2 separate regions of the Homo sapiens genome follow, and region 2 is linked to region 1. Evidence: promoter capture Hi-C in human tissues and cell types (Jung and others, 2019). All regions are on one chromosome and are shown on one strand. Each heading gives the region's core, a stretch centred on a gene start or on the middle of the fragment in contact. The rest is flanking DNA. Distances are from core to core; before and after follow the strand shown.

Region 1 (5,767 bases), core at 2,162-4,661:
ATAACCAAGGTGTTCAGCAGGTTGTCCACATGGATAGCTGTGAGTACCAGAGTTTATATTTATATGATAGGTTGAGTTCAAGGGGCCACAAACCAGGTGTCTGGCTTTTCAGGCAGGCGAGTGTAGTGACTAAAGGGGTACAAAAGTTATGAAGCCTGGCTTGCATTTGGGCTCTTATCAGGATTTCTGGAAGGTTATTTAATCTCTTTGTACTTCAGTTTTCTCAGTAGTATAATAGTAACTGTCTCATGGAATGGTTGAAATGTTAAATGAGATAATATCTGTAAGTGCTTAATAAATCTTAGCTCTTGTCATTGACTGGGTATAAAAGTTACCCAAATCAGCTTCTGAGGGTAAACTAATTAGTGGCCAGTCTTAGCCTAAAAGAATAGTCAGGGTTGAAGACTCTGTGATATCATTAAATCACCTAAACCACACTGGAGGTTTTCTTTCTTTCTTTTTTTTTGTGAGATGGAGTCTCACTCTGTCCCCCAGGCTGGAGTCCTGTGGCACGATCTGGGCTCACTGCAATCTCTGCCTCCTGGGTTCAAGCGATTCTCCTGCCTCAGCCTCTTGAGTAGCTGGGATTACAGGCATGGGCCACCACACCCACCTAATTTTCATATTTTTAGTAGAGATGGAGTTTCACCATGTTGGCCAGATGCTCTCGATCTCCTGACCTCGTGATCCACCCGCCTCAGCCTCCCAAAGTGCTGGGATTACAGGCGTGAACCACCGCACCCGGCCGAGGTTTTTTATTTCTCTTTACAAGGTCCTAAGTTGACAAACTATAAACATATAAACAGTTACATAGAAAGTATCAGGGAAGTTTTGGATTTAGAATATTACTAAGCTGTATTTTAAATAATGACCATTTAAGGATTCTCCTATCCAAGGGTATTGGTATTTTGAAAGCAAAGCGCAATGCCTATTATATAAAAGACATTCAATACATTTTTTAAATACATTTTGTAAAATAAGGCATTATAACTATCAAATTATGGACAGTTTTCCCTAGCTTCATTTGTAATGTTTACCAGTAAATTGAATAAAAGGCTAGTTATGGTATAATTTGCAGAGGTTGCTCTAGAATGTTCTTATAAAAGGGATCGTGGCATTGTGTTCTGGGTGGAACTAGAAAACTTGTCTTGAAGCTTGGTAGCTTCAGTAGCAGGCATACTGTTGCCTTGCGTGGTGGGCTTAGGGATGCTAATAGGACAAGATGCCCTTCCAGGCCACATGCTGGCTCATCCACTTTGCTAGCAGTTATGGATAAGAGGTAGAAGGAAAATATATTTATTTTTTGTTAATGGGGATATTTTATACAGACTAAATATATTCTTGTTAGTTCCTATGGCATTTCTATAAATGACCTCCCACCTGTTTTGTTAACTTATAAAATCACTGAGAAAACTTGCTTGTGTGTCTCTTTAAACTCCTGTTAAGCCTAGAATAGCGGTTAAAAAAATTGTATGTTTTCAACCAATATGTATTAGTCAATTAGCTTTTACTGAACCATCAATACTCAGTTGTGTTTATGATTTTTATCCTTGCAAGACACACCGTTTTAGAGATTCCAGTTAATGGGATAGATGGTAATTTAAGGATCTTTTTGATGCTAAGAGTCTAAGATGATCAAATCTATCAAGGAGAGATCTTGGTAACAATAAAGATGTTTTAGAAAAACTTGGGAATTTATTAGCCTTATATAGAGATACACATAATTCCAGTAGAATACAGTTATATAGATAGAAATTATGCATATTTACTAGTAAAAAATCTGCTAAATGAATAAACAGCCCTTGGTGTTGCTGCCCAAAGGCCTTTGGTGAAACCTGATGGGTTTTTCTGTACCACAGAATAGTCAAGGAGAGCCTCTGGAGAAGAGCATGCGGTCTGGATTTGGAAGCCTCAGTTTGATTTCTGGCTTTGTCACTTACCTTAGGCATTCAGTAAGTCACTTCACCTCTGTGTTCCTGTTTCCTCATCTGTAAAACAATGATAATAGTAGTAACTACTTTATAAGGTTGTTATAAAGATTACATGAGTGAATTCATTTCCATAAAATACTTAGAATATTATCTGGCCCATAAGCACTATATACATTCTCATGGTTTTTCTTGTTTCTTTTCATAGATATAGGTGGCTTCCAGACAATCTTTCCATACTTGGTGGTTAGAGCAGAAGAGATTCATGAAGAGCACTGCCCTTTGAAACAAAATCTCATATTCAGAAAACTGATGCCAAACACCAAGTAGCATGATTTCACTCTGAAGCAGTGTTTCAGCCATTGCCCTGGAATGGTTTTAAAGCAAGTGATATACTGCTGAAAGTGCTGCCTTTGATATTAAATGTTCATTAAAAATCTTCACTAAGACATAAAGTTTTTCACTACTATCTCTTGGTAAGGGTTCAAATTTGAGATGAAATTCCTTAAAGTGGTTAAAGCATTCATTGTCCCCTCTGCCTGATGCTTTTAACTAGTTTATTTTACAGAAGGAGTACTCTCTTCAAGTGGCTGTAGATTGAGACACTCTTACAGGCTTAGTTGTTGAGTCAACCACATTTAAAAAATGCACCTGCCCTTTGGTTTATGGTGCGTAATGCATTCCTCTCATAAACTGTAAATTGACAAAATTCCTTTGCCATTTTAAAATTGCTTAAAGTATTTATTTTTCTATATTCCTTGTAAGGAACTCCCCTGAGCACTCTTAACTTAATTGCTCTCTGAAAAATATTTTAAAGAAATTCCAGAAGTGGTAAAGCTCAGAGGAGCCCCACAAATACAAAGTGCTGAAGTAAAATATGATGCTAAATGGTGATAAGAGACTTAAAACTAGATTTCATTGTGATAAGAATGTGATAAAGTTTGATTGTAATTCTTATACCTCCTTTCAGAAAATCATGTTATAGAAAAATGTTCCTAAGCAGTAAAACAAAGCCATTTTAAAAAATAACTTCTCATGTGCACTCTTTAACAACCTAAGTGTTATGAAGTCTCTCAATTGAGATCTTTAACCGTAAATAGTTTTTGCCTTTTGTATTATGTCCAGATCCTATTTAATGCAATTAGAATACAAATTCCTATGTACTGAGGACCTTGATTACATAGATGAGATATTTCTTAGTTCCAGTTGGTGTTTCTCATCTCTTGTCTTCTCTGACCCTATTTATACATTCTCTGTTTTTATCAGATGATTCTTCCCCAGAACGGACTGGGAGAGCGAGGTCCGGGTTTCCTTCTATTTATTTGCATCGATGTCGCTCCGAGTCTTCAGCACTGGGCCGCGTATGACAGCATCTTAGTGGGTGCGGAGCGGGACAGCGCGCCGGGGGCGTGGCAGGGGCGTGGCCTGTCCGCGGGGCGGGGAGTGCGGGGCGGGGCTTCCGCGGAGCGCAGCGAGCGGGCACATCCCAGGTTAGCTGCTGCGAGCCGAGCCGGGCGGCGGAGGCGGCGGCGGCGGCGGCAGTGGCGGCAGTGGCGGCAGTGGCGGCAGCGGCAGCAGTTGCAGCAGTGGTGGCCAGAGCGGATGCTTGCGGGCTCCCTGCGGCTCCACTAGTTTTCTTCGCCCCGCCCAGCCGCCCACTCTTCTCGGCTAGGGAAGAAGACCAGAGGGTGCTCAGCTGGAAAACTCTGGTGTCTCAGCTTAGGGCCTCCTCCGGGAAGAGCTAACTGCTCCCAGGTGAAGCCGGTGCCCGCGGGCGGTCCGTACACCCCGCAGCCGGCTCGCACCGCTCGAGAGCCTCGGCCGCTGTGTCTTCCACGTCTGCAGCTCAGCCAGGGCGCGCAGGGCGAGTGGGGTCCACTGGCGGGTAAAGGGGACCAGGACGGCGAGGATGGACGCACAGACCTGGCCCGTGGGCTTTCGCTGCCTCCTCCTTCTGGCCCTGGTTGGGTCCGCCCGCAGCGAGGGCGTGCAGACCTGCGAAGAAGTTCGGAAACTTTTCCAGTGGCGGCTGCTGGGAGCTGTCAGGGGGCTGCCGGATTCGCCGCGGGCAGGTAAGGGGCAATGAGGGGGTCTCTGGACTGGCGGCGTCCGAGCCCGGCCTTCGCTCCCCCAGGCTCCCTTGGTGGCACTCGTGGGAAGATGACCTTTCGGGCCCTGCAGCCGCGCAGGGTGAATCCCGGGGAGGCTTCCGGGGATGCTTGGTGCGGGTAGCCTGAGTGCAGCGCAGCGCAGCTCTGGGGACCCCTAACCAAGCCTGCGACGAATCCCCGTTCTGGGCATCTGCTTCCCGCCCGGCTCCCTTCGTCTTGGAGGATGAGTTGGAAGGAACCAGGAAAGCAGACATCAGGGCGTGGGGGACACGCAGTCTAACTCCGTTTCTCTTCCGAGTAGGAATTTCCCCAGTGCCCCACCGGGGATTTCGGTTTACTGCTTTCTCATAAGGTGGAGGGAATTGAATTGATCGCCCCAAGTTTGGTACTAAAAATCACAAACCTGCGATATACCCCTTTGCTGGAGAATGGGGCACAGACAAGGGCAGCCGGTCTCCTCTGTAATTAGGACTTGGACCCTGTGCACCCAGAGACGTGACCCTTAGCTGCCCTTCTGTGCCCTCGTATCAAGCCCTGCTTGGAGGAAACCCAACCACCCAGTGTGTCTCCCAGCACCAAGGTAGTTTTTAGCCTGAAAAGTGTTAGGGCAACAGGCGATCAAACCGAACGTACTGGGGAGTCACTTGACATGGATGAGATGTACCAGCGTTCCAAAGGGAAAGATACAGTTTGTGTGGCCAGCGTGGATCTTGCTTCCTGTGAGCGCCTTTTGCCTGTGCTTTCGAACCCTGCTCCCCGTTTCCACCGCACCAATTTCCTTCTGCTGGTGGGAGTTCCAGTGTAGGTTCTGTCTGGAAGAATAGGTCATAGCTGTCAAACGCAATAGCAGGTGTCTAGAGCTAAGTAAGATCTCACTAGAGCCATGCACCCCTTTAGCTGTGACTATGAAGCCAACACAGACGAATCTGTGAGGTTACTGGTTGAACAAAGAACTTGTGGAGGACGCTTAAGTCTAAAGTCCCGAGTTTCCAGGGTTGGGGGACTTGCTTGTAGCAATGAGGAAGTGTGAGCTGTAGCCGCTTTTCTTGATTGCTTTGCTCAATTTTAAGTCATCCCAGAAAGAAAATCTAGGCATTCGGGAACACTGACTCCATTTGAGTTTACATGACCAGTCTTAAACCCAGCTATTTCTTTGTATACCTGTTTGGTACTAGGTGCTTTTTCTGTATTACTTGAAACAAAGTTGACATTCTCAGTTTAGGGCGATTCTTCTATCCCCAAATAAAATATCGCCTTATAGATCTGTATTTTTCTTAGTGCATTCTTTTCATTAGGAAATAAATCTCACTTTATTGGCTGCTGATAAAACTAAAGTGAGTTTGTGCGTGTGGGTGGTGAGGGTGTTATGATGTGAGATCTTTACCTGAATTATTAGATTTTTAGTCCCCAAATATGGTAACTTTGCCTGCTATGTTCACCGAATGTTGATGGCCAGCCCCTTCTCCCCAGTAAGGCCCTGATTTCACTCCACTCTGGTATCTCAGTATTTCTGGTATCTGCTGAATGCAACACATTGATTGGGTGTTCATCTCTTTTAAAGATGAACTTTCCAGAGTATCAGTCACTGAGACAGTGTCTTACCAGGATGTCAGGGAAAACTAAAGCTCTGTCCTAAGGAGAGGGAAATGACTGTAATTATTTGCATTTGATACACATGACACACAAAAAAGTTCCATGACGACAAGGAATCTTTCTTTTCTAAGTCAC
Region 2 (6,248 bases), core at 1-2,500, 47 kb before region 1:
CAGGAAAAAAGAGAACATCACCTTGTAAAACTGAAGATTGTGACCAGTCAGAATAATGTCAAAGTGCTTACAGTGCAGGTAGTGATATGTGCATCTACTGCAGTGAAGGCACTTGTAGCATTATGGTGACAGCTGCCTCGGGAAGCCAAGTTGGGCTTTAAAGTGCAGGGCCTGCTGATGTTGAGTGCTTTTTGTTCTAAGGTGCATCTAGTGCAGATAGTGAAGTAGATTAGCATCTACTGCCCTAAGTGCTCCTTCTGGCATAAGAAGTTATGTATTCATCCAATAATTCAAGCCAAGCAAGTATATAGGTGTTTTAATAGTTTTTGTTTGCAGTCCTCTGTTAGTTTTGCATAGTTGCACTACAAGAAGAATGTAGTTGTGCAAATCTATGCAAAACTGATGGTGGCCTGCTATTTCCTTCAAATGAATGATTTTTACTAATTTTGTGTACTTTTATTGTGTCGATGTAGAATCTGCCTGGTCTATCTGATGTGACAGCTTCTGTAGCACTAAAGTGCTTATAGTGCAGGTAGTGTTTAGTTATCTACTGCATTATGAGCACTTAAAGTACTGCTAGCTGTAGAACTCCAGCTTCGGCCTGTCGCCCAATCAAACTGTCCTGTTACTGAACACTGTTCTATGGTTAGTTTTGCAGGTTTGCATCCAGCTGTGTGATATTCTGCTGTGCAAATCCATGCAAAACTGACTGTGGTAGTGAAAAGTCTGTAGAAAAGTAAGGGAAACTCAAACCCCTTTCTACACAGGTTGGGATCGGTTGCAATGCTGTGTTTCTGTATGGTATTGCACTTGTCCCGGCCTGTTGAGTTTGGTGGGGATTGTGACCAGAAGATTTTGAAAATTAAATATTACTGAAGATTTCGACTTCCACTGTTAAATGTACAAGATACATGAAATATTAAAGAAAATGTGTAACTTTTTGTGTAAATACATCTTGTCTTGTTTTCATTCAAAAACATTTCACTTTTGGGGTTGCGTGTCAGATTTGGCAGTATAAATTCTGGCTATATTTTTTGTTGTTAGATTTATTTGGCTGTTAAGTATTGCGATATGACTAAACATACTGTATACCTGATGATCATCTGTAAAGTTAGAGTATATCTTTTTGCTTTCTTTGGAGTTAGTGTTATTCCAGGATATTTTACTTAATCTAAAAGTTAATTTATGTTGCTCATATATTACTCAAGTATTTAAATTTAGAGAGAATGCCGCTCTGTTTAAAGCAATGTGTAAAGATGAGTTTTTTTAAGCATGGAATTTAGGGTTGGGGTACAATTTGTTTCTATTAAGCAAGTACCAGTTTACCAATACATGAGTAACTGAAGTGTAACTGTTAAATGCTTGTATACTAGTTTTTCTTTCTGATTGTCAGTGATTTATAAGCTATAAATGACCAAGGTCCTCAGACTGCTTTTAGCATCTGCAACTTAAAAAAATGGGAGTTAGAAAAAGAACAAATGCTAAATAGAGTAACAGTTAAATGTATGTGTACACTCTTCCCAAATGCCAAGAGTGCAGCGGTGGGGTGAGATTCAGATATTCATTTATTTCTAAGTCTGTAGTTAACATTTATGTTCCCTACTCCCTACGTAAGCCAGACTTTGGCAACAGTGATAGTTGATTCCAGGCTTATTTGACTTAAAGTCACTGAAGTGGAAACTAAGAAGTGGCAGTTAGTGTTTTACCCAGCATTTCTGCCTTCTCTCTTTTCTTCATGTGTTTTTGTCTCTAGCCTATGTGTATTTGTGTAGAATAATGTGGGATACCTGAATAATAGATTTAAAAGGACCAAGTGGTAAAATTGGGCCCAAGCTGAAGTACAGGCAAACTTGATGTTTGAAAGATAAGTTTTGAGAAATGTCATTGTATTTTGGAGTAAAAGAGGCTATCTTAGTAATAAGAAATAAACTTCCATAACACTAGGTTAGACCACCCAATAAATCTAGAAATCAGCTTTTAAAAATATTGTCTGAAGTCTAACAAAAGTTTTCACCTCTAATGTGTTCTTTAAGAAATTTAAGGAACTTAGCCTTGGATTCCTGAATAGAAAGGTAAGAATTCTATCATTCTGGAGTTGATGAAAACATAAATTTTCAGGATGTGAAATGAACAGTGATTTATAAAATGGAAATCAAATTGTACATTAGCAGAGTTCTTAAGCTTTTTGAATTGAAGGAGACCTAATAATTGTGTCTTTTTGGTTATTTAGTGACAAACGTGGCTTTCAAACTATGCTTAAAAAGTTCCGGCTGGACACGGTGGCTCACACCTATAATCCTAGCACTTGGGGAGGCTGAGGCAGACGGATTACCTGAGGTCAGGAGTTCGAGACCAACCTGGCCGACATGGTGAAACGCTGTCTCTACTAAAAATATAAAAAATTAGCCGGGTGCAGTGGCGTGCACCTGTAATCCCAGCTACTCTGGAGGCTGAGGCAGGAGAATCACCTGAACCTGGGAGGTGGAGGTTTCAGTGAGCTGAGATCCTGCCACTGCACTCCAGCCTGGGCGCAAGACCAAGACTTAAACGCAAAAAAAAAAAAAAAAAAAAAAAAAAAGTTTCATAATACAGCATGGTCTGGTAGTTTGCAAAATGGTGTGCTTTTGGGGAGATACACTAGCAATTTTTTTAAAAACTGGAACAGTGTGATAGGAAGCCTGCTGGATGATTTCTTAAATATTCTAAAATGTAAGTCAAATATGTTTTAATAACAAAGACTTAAATGGCTTTTCTCCCTAGAGACTGAAACTAGTATTCATTGTGTTCAGAACTTAATTGGGCTTGAACTGAGATTTAAATCTAATAAACAAGTTAATAAATGTGTATGTTTTGTTGTGGGTTTGGTAGTGATCTGTGGTTCTATAGGGTTTAATAGGAATTGCTTTTGATTTGTTTCTGGCTTTAGAATGTGAGGCAAATTTTACATTCTTGGTTCTATTAAGATTTTCTTAGGCATGCTAACATGCCAACAAAAAGCCATGTAAGTATTGTATAAAAAGATTCACATTGTTAATTTAGCCATTTTGAAATTCAGATGAGTGAGCAAGTTGATAATGGCCTCATCTCTGACCTGAGAAAAAACAACTTTGACCCTTGTTCTTAAAATGCTTTAACCTTGAAGTTGCTTGAGACTTAAGAGGTCATGTTGCTTTAGGTTTAATAAATAGCCTTAACTATTTGGAGGGGAAAAAATGGGTCAACTTTTTTTTTTTTTTTTGGCGTTTGCATGTACAACTTTCTATTTTTAGCCTATATTTGGAAAGAAAGCACTTAACATTTTAGGAATTCTTTTTAAAGCTGCTTGCAAAGTGTTGGTGATTTTACTGAAAACTTTTGAGATCTTCATTTTACAGGCAGACCTGTCTAACTACAAGCCAGACTTGGGTTTTCTCCTGTAGTTTGAAGACACACTGACTCCTGACAAAATGCAGCCTGCAACTTCCTGGAGAACAACTCAGTGTCACATTAAAGTTTATTATGTATTTAATGATACACTGTTTAATTGACAGTTTTGCATAGTTTGTCTAACTTTAGAGAATTAAGAGCCTCTCAACTGAGCAGTAAAGGTAAGGAGAGCTCAATCTGCACAGAGCCAGTTTTTAGTGTTTGATGGAAATAAGATCATCATGCCCACTTGAGACTTCAGATTATTCTTTAGCTTAGTGGTTGTATGAGTTACATCTTATTAAAGTCGAAATTAATGTAGTTTTCTGCCTTGATAACATTTCATATGTGGTATTAGTTTTAAAGGGTCATTAGGAAAATGCACATATTCCATGAATTTTAAGACCCATAGAAAAGTTGAAGAATGCTTAATTTTCTTATCCAGTAATGTAAACACAGAGACAGAACATTGAGATGTGCCTAGTTCTGTATTTACAGTTTGGTCTGGCTGTTTGAGTTCTAGCGCATTTAATGTTAATAAATAAAATACTGCATTTTAAAGCTGTTAAGAAATTGTCCAGAACGAGAATATTGAAATAAAAACTTCAAGGTTATTATCGCAGTTTTTATGGCGTTTTTGTTTTGTCACTACAGATGGTCTAAAGGTTACTTATTAATTAATTGGGGAAGTGGAGACAAGGACCAAAGTTTATCTGGATTTTCTTATTTAATCTTCATTACCTGTGAAATATGTATTTGTATTCTTACTTTACATATGAGATCAGAAGTTCATTTTCAAGCAGAATGGAAAGGTGGTAAATGGACTCTGAATTAAAATATGTCAGTATTTTAAAAGGTTATCTTCTGCCTAGTATTTTTATGGAATCTGACAAGTTCTCAGATCACACTTGTTTCCTTAAATCTTGGTAAGTCTGAAGCATTCTTCATTTTGTTTATATTATACACGTTAGTAAGGTGGGAGTTCTTTTGTTTTTTGTGTTTTTTGGCCAGTTGATAACATGAAAGTTTAAGAGAGGAGGCCAAAGTATATAAAAAGTCTTAAACTCCTGCTTCTAATAAATGTCCAATATGTGTTGGCTCCTGGGTTGAGTGTTTATTAATGGGTCTGTACTAACTCTAAAACATTAAATAAGAATGGTATGTTCTGACCAGCCCTCAAAGTTCAGCCATTTCTAAAAGTTCAAAAAATCATTGTAAATATTTTTTAAATGAGGTACGAGATTGTACCTGTCTATGGCCAGTAACACAAGAAATCTAGGCTCATGCAGAGTTTTAGCATAGTTGACCCTCAGTATCAGTGGAGGGATTGGTAGGACCCTCAGTGCATACCAAATTCTTCAGGTGCTCAAGTCCCTTATGTAAAGTGGTGCAGTGTTTGCATGTAAATCTATACATGTCTTCTTGTATGCTTTAAGCTGTCTATATATTGCTTGAATAATCTGGTAAAATATCTTACATATTATTCATGTAGATTCAGTATAGTATTTGCGTGTGGCAAATTCAGGTTTGGCTTTTGGGGACTTCGTGAGATTTTTTTTCCTGAGTATTTTCAGTCTGTTTGTGGTTGGATGCAGGAACCACAGATACATAGGGCTAACTTAAGTAAGTGCCGACATAAATGCGTTAGTCATAGAGGTAAATAACAAAGACCTGAGTTTGGTAGTAAGTTCCCCGAAATGAAATGTTAGTATACTCCTAAGTGATTAGTAATTAGATCTCAGGTTGAATATACTAAATCCTTAATAACTGCATGTTTACTTTTAAGACCTAGATTTGTCAGTATATTAGTAGAGGTGAGCATGTACTAATTGTTCACACTTGTTTATAAAAGCATATATACTGTGAATTTTTAGTACGTTTAATGTTGACTTCAACTTACATAGACTGAAAAAGATTGAAAAAAAGCTTCGACGACATCAGTTCTGCACTTGTTGAGATGTACTGATCCAGATGGAATACCACACTGTTCAGCAGGTTGGGGTAACTAGATGAGACTAGTGAATGTTCCAAGAGTAGATGAAAATTGGGGTCCTGTAAGGTGGTGCTAGGAATTCTAAAGTGATTATGCATTTACCAAGAAAAGGTTCTTAACCAGTTGTCTTAAAATTATTAAGACGTAAAGACCTGGAATCTTAATCTAGCTGCACTATATTAGAGTCTTTGGGGCAGGATGCTGCGCAGACAAGTATTTTGAGAAATACCTGTTGATTTTGCTGTATATACTTAAGGATATATCTACTACCCTGAATTGTTGGAAATGCTGAGCCATAGGAATGCAGAAGAACATCAAAACACCTTAGAATTTATATGCAGGAAAGAGACCAGTAAACTATTTTTATGGTTCATGCAGTCATTACTCAGTTTTATAGCTGACTGACAAAATATGTGCCCCAACCCCACATTTATTTCTAAATCCACAGGCTTTTCCTTACTCTTCAATTTCAGTAACTTCCCTTTTTCTTCTCCAATGATACTTTGTTTTGGTAACAGCACCTAACAGGCCAGGTGTGTAGTTGTCTTTGTGCTATACCTGTATTTCCTTGGTTGGCTACTGTCACAGTGGCCACCATCATTCTGAACAAGTAAGGTGCACAAGGTACAAGCCATGTCTTTAGACATAGGTTATCGTCAGCATTTAGATTCTCCTCTAAGGCTTTCATCTAAAACTCCCTTGGTTTTGTGTTTAAAACTTAGTCCACAGTTTTCTAGTGTTACCCTCAGAATAATTGTCAAAATTGTACTTTCTAATACTCAAGATTGCATCTAAATTTCAAGTTAGAAAAGATGTTTATGCCATATTCTGAGTGTCTTGTGTTTATAAC

The links. Contacts are between HindIII fragments. The study calls those that stand out against the background at their distance.
Region 2: a fragment that was not itself captured here is called in contact with the fragment with the promoter of GPC5 in region 1 in 1 of the 25 tissues and cell types used here (lymphoblastoid cells).

What each region holds. Positions count from the first base shown.
Region 1 is chr13:91,395,210-91,400,976 of GRCh38, forward strand. It overlaps GPC5 (glypican 5), which reads left to right and starts at 3,412. Exons shown (of 8, transcript NM_004466.6): 1 at 3,412-4,000. The coding sequence starts at 3,838. It overlaps LOC124903189 (a long non-coding RNA gene), which reads left to right and starts at 1,668. Exons shown (of 2, transcript XR_007063831.1): 1 at 1,668-1,952; 2 at 2,137-2,379. RefSeq lists silencers at 3,226-3,520, 3,227-3,496. The HindIII fragment of the contact is 16,121 bases long and covers 526-5,767 here.
Region 2 is chr13:91,350,559-91,356,806 of GRCh38, forward strand. MIR17HG (miR-17-92a-1 cluster host gene) reads left to right here. Exons shown (of 3, transcript NR_197388.1): 3 at 1-4,019. MIR17 (microRNA 17) reads left to right here and starts at 47; the gene lies at 47-130. It overlaps MIR18A (microRNA 18a), which reads left to right and starts at 193; the gene lies at 193-263. MIR19A (microRNA 19a) reads left to right here and starts at 333; the gene lies at 333-414. It also overlaps MIR20A, MIR19B1 and MIR92A1. The HindIII fragment of the contact is 5,011 bases long and covers 1-3,756 here.